3 separate regions of the Homo sapiens genome follow, and all the other regions are linked to region 1. The links are contacts of gene promoters, found by promoter capture Hi-C in human tissues and cell types (Jung and others, 2019). All regions are on one chromosome and are shown on one strand. Each heading gives the region's core, a stretch centred on a gene start or on the middle of the fragment in contact. The rest is flanking DNA. Distances are from core to core; before and after follow the strand shown. Region 1 holds the start of FRG2C (FSHD region gene 2 family member C). Region 2 has its middle 43 kb from the start of MIR4444-2. Region 3 has its middle 310 kb from the start of ZNF717.

Region 1 (4,170 bases), core at 183-2,682:
TTGATAAACAGCCTCCGACATAGCTCGCACAGAGGTCACCAAGCTTTTTCGAAGTGACGGTGTTTGGACTTCTAGGGCCCGAGACCTATGCCGCTTGCTGCGCCCAGTGCAAGCCCTGGAACTTCCCCTATGGTGGGCATCACAGGTCTCCTGGATTTCACTGTTGTGCACAGCAGTGGAGGATCTTGATTTTTTATTCAACGTCAAGTTGCACTCCTCTTCTGGACAGTTCCCTGCAAAGAAAGCATGTGAGAGACTCACCAGAGCAGTCCCCACAGACCCTCATTTCCAGAACCCCCTGTGCACCCAGGTGAACCCCATTTGTCTCTCCCACTCCTTCCTGACCATCTCAGGACTGGAATGAAGTGAGGCTGAACCACTTGTGAGTCCCCAAATATTCTCAGAGTGCTAGGATCTCAAAAATTTACTTGTCAATAAGTAATTCCCTTTCCGCTCAAGCCTCGTATAAAAGTTTCCTGATTATTTGCCTTTTGGGGCAAACCAAAAACAAAAAAACCACCACCACCACCAACAACAACAAACACCAAGATTCTACCTGCTCTGTCTTGGCAGATATCCTTGGAACTGATTTTTCTTTTCCTGCAGTTTTCCTGATATGAGCTGGACTCTGGTTCTGTGAACACAATGAGAGTTTGAGAAAGTGCCTCCAACTGAACACCCTGAAATTCCTAGTCCATCCTGGACACACAGGAGCTGAGGTTACCGCCAAACCCCAGCTCTCTTCTGTTCTCCAGTGTCCAGGATCTGTACTGCCCTGGCTGCCAAGGAGCTCCCAGTTTCCTTGCCAGGGGAGCCTGTGTTGCTGCCCTGTCCCTTCTCACCTTGAAAGAGTCAAATCTTACCTGATCCAGCAGTGCTGTTCCCGGCCTTGAGCTTGGTTTCCTCAGAATTCTCCTTGTTTGGATTGGGATCTGATCCTGCTGCAAGAGAAGGTTTAGATGGCTCACCTCTCCCTAGGCAGAGTCCCATAGTCTATCTCTCATGCATTTTTGAGAATCAGTCTTTCATGTGAAGCTCTTCTGCCAGTGTCATGAGTGAACACATTTCTCAAAGTCCCCTAAGGGCACTAAGCCATTTCCCATCCCCAAATCTCAAAATAAAACCCTGCTAAAGACACATAGCTCAGTATCCCTGATTCCAACCCTCCTTCCAGCCTCCATAGGAGCAGCCCAAGGCCTTACCTTGCCTTTGTGTGTGCTTCTCACTGGAATGGGAGAAGGCGGTCTTGCCTTTTCCTTTGAATGGTTTCTTCTCATCTGAGCCCTTTTCTGTAAAGGAGATCTGTTGGAAAGGGGGCTGGTCAGTGGAGCACTGGATGGAGGAACAGTGGAGATCGGGGTCTTCATTTCCCTTTCCCATGTTGAAGCTCAAGTGAAAGGTGCGCTCTCTCACATGTCCAAAGGCAGAGTGTGGGTTAGTCTGCTAGACCTGCCTTTTATACGTCCCTCGGCTGGGCGTGGCTTACTCTTATTGGCTGAAGAGTTTTCTCATTCCTGCCGCTTCTTAGAGCCTCAATCAGAAGTTTCTTGCTGTAGTTCTACTGGGGACCTAGACACAGTTAAGGGGAGACATTTTCAGGATCTTGTCATAGTGTCAAGAAAACAAAGAACCGGGAGCACAGGGACCGGAAGATCAGGGAATCATTTCTTCCGATTTCTGTCCCAGTTCCTACCTGGAGGTATTTATGATCCTGTTCACCTTTCAAGATGCACAATTAAACATGTCTATATTGACATATGTTATATATTTTGCACAGAAAGAGAATTTATTATACATAGTGTTAACGTTGTATGCATAGATATTATAATTTCTTAAATGCTTGGAAACAACAAATGTCAAATTATGGTTGAGTCTATTAGATCCACACATAGATGATGAAATAAAAGTGCAGAGAAAAAATAAATACCAAATGAAATGGCCCTTCCTACCTTAAAAATGGGGAAGATAATTAGATCAAATGCAATAAAATTGCATTGATTAGGTTGAGCCAGTGCTAACCTAATCAGCCCCTGATTCTAGGTGGAAAAACTTTCCCCCTTTCTCACCCTTCCTCAGTCATCCTGGGAGGGCCATTGTGTTCTGTGGAATTTATTCAGCCTCCCTAGTAAAAATGGACTTGGTCGCAAACAGGTAACCCAGCTGATCACAAGAAAAACAGCCTAGATTCTAAACATTCAGCTCCTGTCTTCACACCGCAGACACCACCTGAATCCCGTCAAAGCCCACATTATTTCTCAACAACCACCATATTCCAGGGCAGCCTCTCAAAATTGCCTCAGTGAGACGGGACAAAGTGTGGTGGAGCTCCAGGTTCAGAATAGCTGCCTCATCCCTTCCTACTGCGGCGGAGTCTGTCTCTGCTGGTCAGAGCCCTCCAACTAGCCTAGGCTACGTCCAAGCAAGTGTCCCCTAAAAGGACCTTCTTCTCTCCCCCTCTGCTGAGGAAAGCATGCAGGAATGAGACTTTCTATGTTAGGGAGTACTCGGCCTCCAGTCCCAAATGACTTGATTGACTGATGAAATGATTCCTTGAGGAGGAGAAAGACACGGGGAAGAGACTGTGTTGGGTGAGTCTGTGTTTTCCCAGCTGTGCTGCCTGTGCAAATAGTGGAACCAAAAAAGAATTAGTGGTAGACAGACACTGCCTAGTGAAATTGTCTGAATGTAAATGGAACTTATCATAATATGATATCATTATATATTATAATATTATAAAATTTATTTGACATCTAAATAAATTTTGATATGATATATAAAATTTGGTCAGGTAATTTTATAAGAAAATTGAGTTACATTTTTTAACAATATTAACATATAAACTCAATAGAAAGCTAGGAAAATTGTCTGCTCTTGTGTAAATGACTGCTTTTTGGATAACTCTGTAAAAGGTGTGAAGGGGGTCTGCTACTTACTTGATAGTAAGTACTTGATAAGACATCGACTTCCACATCTTTGCTGTTTTTAACCAGTGCCCTCTCAAGATATGAGAATATTTTACTCTAAGGAAGTATTTTCATAGATATCATAATAGGAATTTTGTTCATTTTAGTTAATAAATTATTATAACATTTAGTGATTATTAATAATTTATGTCACTGTTAAAATATACTCCTACAGACAACATATTACATATGTGTTTTGATTTGTCCTTTAATCTCAGGTAAATTTTTTAAATTTTTATTTATTAAATTCTATATATTTTAGATAAAAGAGACCTTGTAACTGCCATATGATGTACTTTCTTAGAAAGAGAAATTCTCAGGCAAAACTCAGGTCTGGCCAGGCACGGTGCCTCATGCCTGTAATCCCAGCACTTTGCGAGGCCAAGGCGGGTGGATCGCCTTAGGTCAGGAGTTCAAGGCTAGCCTAGCCAACATAAGGAAACCCCATCTGTACTAAAAATACAAAAAAAAAAAAAAAAAAAAAAATTAACTGAATGTGGTGGCTCACGCCTGTAATCCCAGCTAGTTGGGAGGCTGAAGTGGGCAGATCACCTGAGGTCAGGAGTTCAAGACCAGCCTGGGCAACATGGTCAAATCATGTCTCTACTAAAACATACAAAAATTAGCCAGATGTGGTGGCTGTTGCCTATAATCCTAGCTACTCGGGTGGCTGAGACTGCAGAATCACTCAAACCTGGGAGGTGGAGGTTGCCATGGGCCAAGATGGTGCCACTGCACTCCTGCCTGGACAATGAGTGAAAACTCTGTCGAAAGAAAAGAAAAGAAAAGAAAAGAAAGAAAAACTTGAGAGGCAATGCTTAGCTAAGTGGCTCTCAGCCCATGCTTCCAGTCATAATCACACGGCCAGCTTAAAGAAATACCATCACCTGTGCCCTCCCCAGAGACTCTGTCTATTGGTCTTGGTGGGAGCATCTATGTGGTTGTAATTAGAAAGTCAAATTGTCCCTCTTTGATAATTATATAATATCATATATACAAAAATTCTAAAGACCACCAAAAAAACTCTTAGATTTGATAAATAAATTTAATAATGTTTCAGGATGCAAAAATCAATGTACAAAAATTGGTAGCATTTTTATACACTAATGATGATCAAGCTGAGAACTGAATTAAAAAGTCACTTCCTTTTACAATAGCTACAAAAAAGGTAAAATGCTTAGAAATACAATTAGTCAAAGAGATGAAC
Region 2 (4,417 bases), core at 1,883-4,382, 410 kb after region 1:
AATGAATTTAAAATACAGATTTCTCCATTTAAAATTCTATTTAATTCATCATCATAGATTAGAAGTTTGACAGTGACGAGGTGCTTATAATATATGTATGAATCTGTTGCATTTTAAGCGCATTCATACACATATGGAAGATTGAGATATGTGCATATAACTGGTGTTCTCTGCATTGAAGACGTCCAGCTAGCAGCCAATATACTTTGTGGATGCCAAATTATGCTATTTTAAATATGATTAACAACAGCAAATTAGAAACAAAAACATCTCCAAAGCTCCATCTTACATACATTTAAATAATTATTTTTGTGTGTGGAAAGACCAATATTCTGCAGGTGTGCAGATATAAAGCATAATTCTTTACCACCCTCTTGTGGTGATTTTAAAGAACAACTTTCTGATCATTGAATCTCCCTCCCTATTTCTAGAGTAATATTGAGCCTCTACACTTCTTTTAAGGTGATTCATAAGAAATTGCAGATATTTGACAATTTTTGACCTACAGAATGGTGATTTCATATGATATTGCTGCAATTAATCATTGTCCATGTGCTCTGAAGCCAAGGAGAATTCATGTACCATTTACTTGGATTTTTAAAACTTATCCTTCCATAAGAATTCCCTGTCTAGCTTTAAGAGTAAACAGAATTTCATCTTACCCTTCCTATCCACAGTTTTCTTGCTATTTATCAACATGACCTAACTCATTAGAGTTGGTTCCATCCCTATGCTGTACGCATGATGCCTTCTTTCCTAACTGCTCCTCACTTCACTGCGGTCCCTTCCTGCCTCATCCAATAGCTATGCAGTCTTTATTACCCAGATAGATGTAACTTTCTTGGATATATCCAGTGCACTTAGATCTGTGCCTTCTCTCTATTCCAATGACTATAACCTGAATCTAATCAATTAATTGTCCTATACTGTCTTATTTACCAGCAGTTTTTTTTTAATTTCTCACTTATACATTAATATATCAACTCCCCAACCATATGCTGAGAGAGGAATTTCTCTCTCTCTCTCTCTATCTCTCTCTAGTGCAGGCAGAATAATGGTCTCCCAAAGATGTCCATAGCTAATCCCCAGAAACAGTGAATATGTTAGGTTGTATAGCAAACGACAGTTAAAGGTGCTACCCAGCTGACATTAAAATAGGAAGATTATCCCAGACTTTCAAGGTGGACCTAATGTCATCTCTTCAAAAGTGCAGGAGGAGACAGAAGCAAGAGAATTGGAAAGACGGCAGCCTCAAAAGTATTCAGCCAAACCTTGCTGGTTTTGAAGATGGAGGAAGGGAGCCATGAGCCAAGGAATGTGGATGACCTCTAAAAGCTAGAAAAAGCCACAGAATGGTTTCTTCCTTACAGCTCCCAGAAGGACTGCAGCCCTACAGATACTTTCATTTTAGCCTAGTAATCTATTTTGGACTCTGACCTCCAGAACTATAACATAAAATATGTATTACTTGACACTAAATTTGTGGTAATTTGTTGCAGCAGCAATAGAAAAAGCTCCATCTATTCATGGCTTTAGACAGGCTCTGGTAGGAGAGGTCTTGAGGTAGAGGGAAGAAGCATAGAGAGGAGACAACACAAAACCTAAGAGTCTCTGTCTTACACAGGCTGCCATTATCTTTAGAGTTAGAAAGACACGGCTTCTACTGACCCCATTACTTGTTAAACTCTTGAACATGTGGCTCAACCTCTCTAAGACTCAGCTCCTTCCCTCAAAATGAAAGAAGGGAGGATTTATAAGGTATCATCCAACATAGGCTTATTAGGATTTTAGATATATAAACTTCTAACTGCTAAGCTTTACAGGCATCATTTAGCAAAATTTCTCTTTCTCTATCTAAACATACCAGTTTTGTAGGAAATTCTCAAGCCTCAGAATAGATAACAAATGGAGTATGTAGGGAAGGAAAAATCTTTTCCCTTTACCCATCTGCAATGGACTGAATGTTTGTGTTCCCCCAAAATTCATATTGAAACTTGAATCCCAATATAATGGCGTTTAGAGGTTGTGGCCTTTGGGAAGTAATTAGGTCATGAGAGTGGAACTGTCATGAATGGGACTAGTGCCCTTACAAGAGCAGGCTGGACAGCTAGCTTGTTCTTTTTACATTATGTGAGGATACAAGGAGATGCCAACTGTGCAAACTGGAAGAGGACTCTTACCAGACCCTAACTATGCTGGCACTCTGATCTAAGACTTCCAGCCTCCAGGATTGTGAGAAATAAATATTGGGTCTACGGTAATTTGTTATAAAAGCCCGAATAGAATAAGACACTATCTTATGTTCATTGTAAACTAAACTCACAAAAGACAGATTAATATGAGAAAAACAAAGAGTTTATTAATATGTGCAGTGCACATCACTTGGGAGAAACCTCAGTGACAAGTGACTCAAAGGGGTGATTAAACTTGAGCATACCAGACTGGGCAGCATAGCAAGACCACATCTCTACAAAAAGTACAAAATTAGCTAGGTGTGGTGGTGTGCACCTGTAGTCTTAGCTACTTGGGAGGCTGAGGCTAGAGGATCCCTTGGGCCAGGAGTTGGAGGCTGCAGTAAACTATGATCACATCACTGCATTGCAGCCTGGGTGACAGAGCAAGACCTTGTCTCAGGAAAAATAAAAAAATAAAAAAAAAAGAAAAAGAACTTGTGCATATATAGTACGTTAGCAAATAATAATAAATTTGTAGAAAAATGGCAAGACATAAGAGAAAAGACTTTTAGCCTTCCAAGGGCTATAACTTGTGGTGGGCTATATATAGGGGCTGAAACTAATAGAAGATAAAATTTCTTTTAGTAAAGTTATATAGGTTCCTCTGGTGCCATCTCTGGGCTGATAAGAGTCCAGCATTGTCTCAGGTGATTAAGAATTGTTCTAGTCTTCCTAGTAGAGAAAGGAAGGACAGAGAGTGTGTCCTGTGTCTGTTTTTTCCTCAATTGCCTTTAGCTCAAAACAATTCTTATGCCAGAGTAGTATATTTTGGGGTGGTATACTCTGAACCCCTCAAGTACCTCAACCTAGATTACTAGCTCAGAGAAGATATCACAGTTAGGCAAAAGCCCGTTGATGTTGGGAACATGTAAACTTTGCATGTATTAACAGGAGCAGCATTGTACCTTTACTTCATTAATCAACTCTGTCCCTGTTAGCTTCAACTAGCATTTATGCTCGAGGAGCACAGATTTTCTGCAAGGCTGTGATTGCCGGAGAAAGTCATTTCATTCTTCAAAGAACTTGGTGGAATTGAAAAGACTAGAGACTGGCTTTAGTGGTTGCCATACTCCCATCCAGGATACTCTTAACATGTGCTGGAATACTGCCATATCTTCTAAACATCAAAAAAGAAAAGAAAAAAGTTAAAAAAAAAAAAAAAAGGCTTAGGAGTCTGGTTCAGCTCTGACATGTAAAGAACGTGGACGTCATACTTGGCCTATGACAAGAAACAGTTGAACCAACTGAAAATCAATGACTTTTCTTGGACTCATCGGGTGCATCCAGAGAGACACACCTGAGATCTGCTTACCTGGAAGAGAAGAAGCTGGTGCCATACACTGATAGGAACATCATATGGTAAATGTAATGAATTGCTGCGGGTTGTGTATGAATTACTGTGAGAGTGAGAAACTATTAGGAGCTGGATATTTAGGGGTAGGGGTCTCCCACACTTTAAAGGGCTTTATATTTAGGAACCCCACCAGGTTCTCACAGTAAACATCTGAAAAGATGTTTTTTCATGGCTCTGGCAGGTGGAAGGGAAGAGTAATCATTGTGAAATAGCTCAGTCTTCTCCTTAACAAAGGCTGACACTCCAAAAGAAAGACTCTGCTAAGAGTTTATCACAGTAGAGGCATTCCTCCCACTGAAGCTCCCTTTAGCCTCCTGGTCTCACCTAAGAAGGGAAAACAAATCAACAGCAATCAAGGTTTCAAGGAAATACAATGCGGATGCTGCAGCCAGGGAAGGGAATAGGGAGAGATAGGGGGATAAAAGCTAGATCATGAAGGTCATAGCCCCAGGATATAGACACTGAGATTTAAGTGGGGCATGGTGGTGGAAGTGCCTGTAACCCTAGCCTCTTGGGAGACCCAGAAGTTCTATCACATCACTGCACTCCAGCCTGGGTGACAGAGCAAGACCCTATCTCTGACACAGGAGCTAAAAAGAAATTATTTAGGCAGATAGTGAAGGTAACAGAGTCCTCGGCAAGGTTTCCCTTTTAATAAAAAGCACCCCCCAAATAATTTCTTTTCTAACAAAAAGCAGCCTGCAAAATCAAGCTGCAAGCATAGATAAGCAAGTGGAAGCTTGCACAGATGAATGCCGGCAGCTGTGCCAATAGAAAAAGGACACCTGGAAGTCAGGTATATTCAACATAGGGGTCCCTTTTCTTTGTC
Region 3 (4,467 bases), core at 54-2,553, 430 kb before region 1:
TTTTAAAGTGCTTTTCTTCTGAATATTCTTGTTACCCAAGTTATGATGCTGGCTAGTTTATTATCTCAAAGTTATTTATGAGTCATTCAGCATGAGAATGTAGGTCAGAAGGCTCTTCTTAAAATGTAATTGATCATAAAGGTGGCCCAAGTAAACTCGAGGTCTGTGATGGAAGATGGCCCAGAATCACAGGATTCTCAGAACATGAGAACTGCCTATGACATGCACTGCACACATGAGGAGATTATTGCTTACGAGGCCTGTCAATATGGGTTCTTTTTATCTCCTTAGAGATAAAGGTTATTTTGTTATGTTATACCTTATGAGGATATTCTTTAATACCTTTTAAAATTTCACTTAAGTACATGACTTGATATTTGTTCAGCTTAATGTTTGGTAAATTATTTTCTAGAAAATTATTAATGTCATCAATATCTTCAAATGTATTAGCTTAGTATTATATATTTTACACATTTATGTCTTTGCAATTTCTATTTCTAATTTTGCTTTGTTTGTATGTTAGATTTCCTTGTTATATTTACCAGATGATTATCTTGTGTGTGTGTGTGTGTGTGTGTGTGTGTGTGTGTGTGTCAAGCATACTATGTGTCTTGTATATAATTCATAATATATGTGCCATACACACACATTGACAATACCATAGATAGTACTACAGTATTTTCTATGTGGAGTTTTGTTGTTATCCAATAAATTTTAGATATTCAGTGGACCCTAAGTCCCCATATGCCTAATAATAGGTTAGTGTTGCCTTCATATATAGACAACCATGGAGCTTTGACATTTCATTATTTGAGTTATCATTATATCAATTGATATAATGTTATTTATAACTAGTGGTCAGCCCAACCTATGCTTGTCTTATTTGGTTTTGCACAGATGTTTGTAACAAATTTAATTTTTTTTCTTTTATTATATTATCTTTCCTTTTTGGTTTAGTGATTTCACATTTCTCTTTATTATTGGAAAAAATTATTTGTTTCTCTGCAGGACTTCATTAATTTTTTCTCTTACATAATGGGCCTTTTAAATTCACAATGTATAGTTGCCTTAGCTTTCAGGTTTTTTTTCTATTAAGTCTTTCACTACTGCTTATCTCCCATGTGTTCTGATATCAGCAACAAAGTTCCATATTTGGATTTTCTCTCTCTGTTCACCATATTATCTTCTCATTCTCACTGTGTCTTTTGCATCTTAGTCTCATACTCACCCATACTCAGCCCAAAATTAAAAGAGAGCTTTTTTAGTGTGTCTTCCATATCGCTTTTTCCTACAATTTAATTCTACTTCTTATTGCTTTTGATGCTGACATTAATGCTGAGATTATTGTTTATATTATATAATCTTTAAAAGCTTTACCGCCACCTAACTCAGAAGTCACTTTTCATATCAGTCAGTTGTCCCATCTCATCTATCCTGCTTCATGAACTCTAACTTATCTAAAATTTGTTGATAGTACAAAGCATCTACAATTTATTTCTATTTGGAAAAGAAGAATTTCCTTCAGTAACCTGAAAGCTGTATTCTATCCTGTAAACATATTGGCTGATTTTGTAGTTTCCCTTTCTCCCTTATTTATTCTTTTTGAAATGAACAATATTTACATAGTTTTGTTATTTGATGATAGAGGAAGAATGAATTCTCCTTCCTTGAATATTTCAGGTTTCATTTCACAGTGAAGATACTGCTTTCAAAGAAACAATGGGGTTACTATAGTCAATCATAACATAATTGCACATTCTAAAATAACTGAATCATGGTGTCATTTTGTAAAGAGCAGTACATTTTATTTGTGGATCTTCCAGAGAAGACTTAATTCTTTCCTTGCTAGATGGAGTCTCAGGGCATCCTTCTCCCACAACTCTTCTAAGCCCAGCTGTATTTCGTTATTGACTGTGAATCCTTGAAAATAAAACAAAATCTCAAACACATGTCTCTCTTAGTGGCACTGTGTTGTTGGGAAGATTTGCTGGAGAAAAATTAGTGAGGGCTGCCTGCCCTGGCAGGTCTCCTTCCTGCTTCTGAGGATTAAGAGCGCTTTGCCGCATCCATCTGGTCACTGGATGGGCCGATCCTACAAGGCAGGCACACAGAATTGATTATTTTGAGAAAAATTCTTTCAGACTTTCTGAGGGGTGTATTTCTTTGTTTCTTTAGATTGTGTGTGCTTGTGTGTGTGTGTGTGTGTGTGAGTGCGAGTGTGCACTCGAGATTGTTATACACTTTCCAGCACATTCCCCTATTCTTCCTCAGGGCTCCATGTACCTGTGGTTGTCAGGAATTCTTTTTGTGATCTGGCACATATTTGGTCCATAGCTTTTAATTTTTTTCACAAATCTGAGAGGGAAAATTAGAAACCTCAAATGCTTGATATCTTAACCAGACAACCCTATGAATATTTCTAACTATGTTGTTGTAGATTCTTATACTTATGAGGCTGACCAAGTCTATAAAAGAGACTTTTATTCTAAAAGTTGATAACACAGAAGTAGTATAAAATGCCACACATTTTCCTGTAAACTATCACTATCATTGACTCTACCATGTTTTCTATAAGGTGGCTTATTTCTCTGATATAAACATTTATAGATATAAAAAGTAATATTTATGGTTCATCCCTCTTTAACTGAAATAAGGAAACCATTTAGATATGAAGCTCAACTGTAAATTTTAGGATCTTAACTGAAAACAAATTCCATTTGAGTTCTTAAAAAGAATGAGGTTGGAGAAAAAAAATCATTCCAAGCAATTTATATAAATATATATAACTATAAAATGATAATATATATGAGAATATATTGTGCCTAATATATATGTATAAATATTTTATATTATAATATCTTACACATAATATATTATAAACTGTATTTTTTTCAAGCAGGCCTGTGTGACTGCTAGTAAATATTTGATTTGCCGTATGCATTTTTGACAGAAAGAAAATTGTATGAATAAACAATGCCAAAATCTCTTCTTGTGTGGCAAAGATGATCTATTTTAGCATGCTATGTTAATGTCTACTTGTTATAGAAAAGAAAGAACACCCATTATACAGGGGAGGCAAGCACAAGATTGAACAAATGAGGAAGCAAGCTGATGGTGTTAATGTCAGGGACTGTTTACGTATTAAATTTTGTCATGGGTAAAATATGTATCATTCACATAAAGACAACAGAAACACAATGATGATTACACCAGAAGACAAATATAAAGACTAGAAAATTCAAATCAACTTCCTTTGTTGAAACCAAAATTTACATCTCAAAAGTATCCCAAAACAGACATAATCAACCACGTTTTACTCAACAGAAAAGGGAGAATAAGTTTTCTACATTTGGGCTATGATGTAAAATACCTTCATAAGTGGCATGCTAAATAAAAAGTGATTTGACGAAGATGTTTTCATGAATGCAAAGTGAATGTCTTCCGTGATTTCTATCAGGAAAATACTTCAAACTGTTCTTTTGTCAAGGTTGACTGAGTCACTGAATATGTTTGCATTTTTCTACTGATTATCAAAATAGTCATAGAAATCTTCATATCAGGTCCTTAGAAAACAGCTTCACAGATTACATATGACCTGGCAACAATTCTTAAATAAAGGGTGTGTCACTAAGATAAAATTTTACAAAGTATGTAGCTGAAGAGGCTGGATCTACTAAGAGCAAAGAGAATGATCCTAACAGAAACAAGTTCGGAATTTATGAGTCTTGCTAGAACACCTGTTAACTGCGGGTACCCAGAGAGTAACAATGACCCAGATCCTAGTAGAGAAGAGATGGATGTATTGAGAGGAAACAAATCACAGATTCTTAATTCTTTAACTTAGGGGATAGAAGTTATGCCATTAGCCATTACTGTTAATTTGAAACAATAAATCACACAGCTATTGAAGAGAAAATGACATACCAGACTCCTTGATGATTGGTTAGCTATTTAGAATCAAGAACAGACATATAAAGGAAGCATTGGATTTTTTATTTGATCACCTCTAGGGTCAAGCTAGCAATAAAATGAATTAATAGATAATCAAGTAAATTTTAACAATTTCAAATATATGTGTATTTTTTAAATTAATAAACTTGACTTTTTAGAGGTGTTAGGCAGACAACCTAATTGAGTGGTAAGTACAAAAAGCCCTCATAAACTTTTTGTCCCCACACATGCGCAACGTCCCACACTATCAACATCCCACATATCCCACATCAGGTACGTTTGTCAGAGGTGATGAACTTACACTGACACATTGTTATCACTCAAAGTCCATAGTTTGTCACTCTAGATGCTGTACATTCTATAGGTTTTGAGAAATGTATAATGTCGTATATTCACCACTAGTGTATCATATAGAATAATTTCACTGTCCTAAAAATCCTCTGTGATCTGCCTAATCATCTCTCCCTATTCCCATAATCCCTGGTAACTACTGATCTTTTTTTACTATCTCTATAC

Evidence for each region. The method cuts DNA at HindIII sites, captures the fragments that hold promoters and counts their contacts. A contact is called where the count stands out against the background at its distance.
Region 2: a contact is called between a fragment that was not itself captured here and the fragment with the promoter of FRG2C in region 1, in 5 of the 25 tissues and cell types used here (dorsolateral prefrontal cortex, liver, mesendoderm cells and 2 more).
Region 3: a fragment that was not itself captured here is called in contact with the fragment with the promoter of FRG2C in region 1 in 1 of the 25 tissues and cell types used here (mesenchymal stem cells).

Annotation. Positions count from the first base shown.
Region 1 is chr3:75,661,590-75,665,759 of GRCh38, reverse strand. FRG2C (FSHD region gene 2 family member C) reads right to left here and starts at 1,432. Exons shown (of 4, transcript NM_001124759.5): 1 at 1,203-1,432; 2 at 864-941; 3 at 557-634; 4 at 1-233. The coding sequence starts at 1,380. The HindIII fragment of the contact is 22,089 bases long and covers 1-4,170 here.
Region 2 is chr3:75,254,960-75,259,376 of GRCh38, reverse strand. No RefSeq gene overlaps it. Among named protein-coding and RNA genes, the nearest start is that of MIR4444-2, 43 kb to the right of the region's middle. RefSeq lists an enhancer at 3,597-4,163. The HindIII fragment of the contact is 5,517 bases long and covers 374-4,417 here.
Region 3 is chr3:76,091,877-76,096,343 of GRCh38, reverse strand. It overlaps a transcript of ROBO2 not described here. Among named protein-coding and RNA genes, the nearest start is that of ZNF717, 310 kb to the right of the region's middle. The HindIII fragment of the contact is 8,540 bases long and covers 1-4,467 here.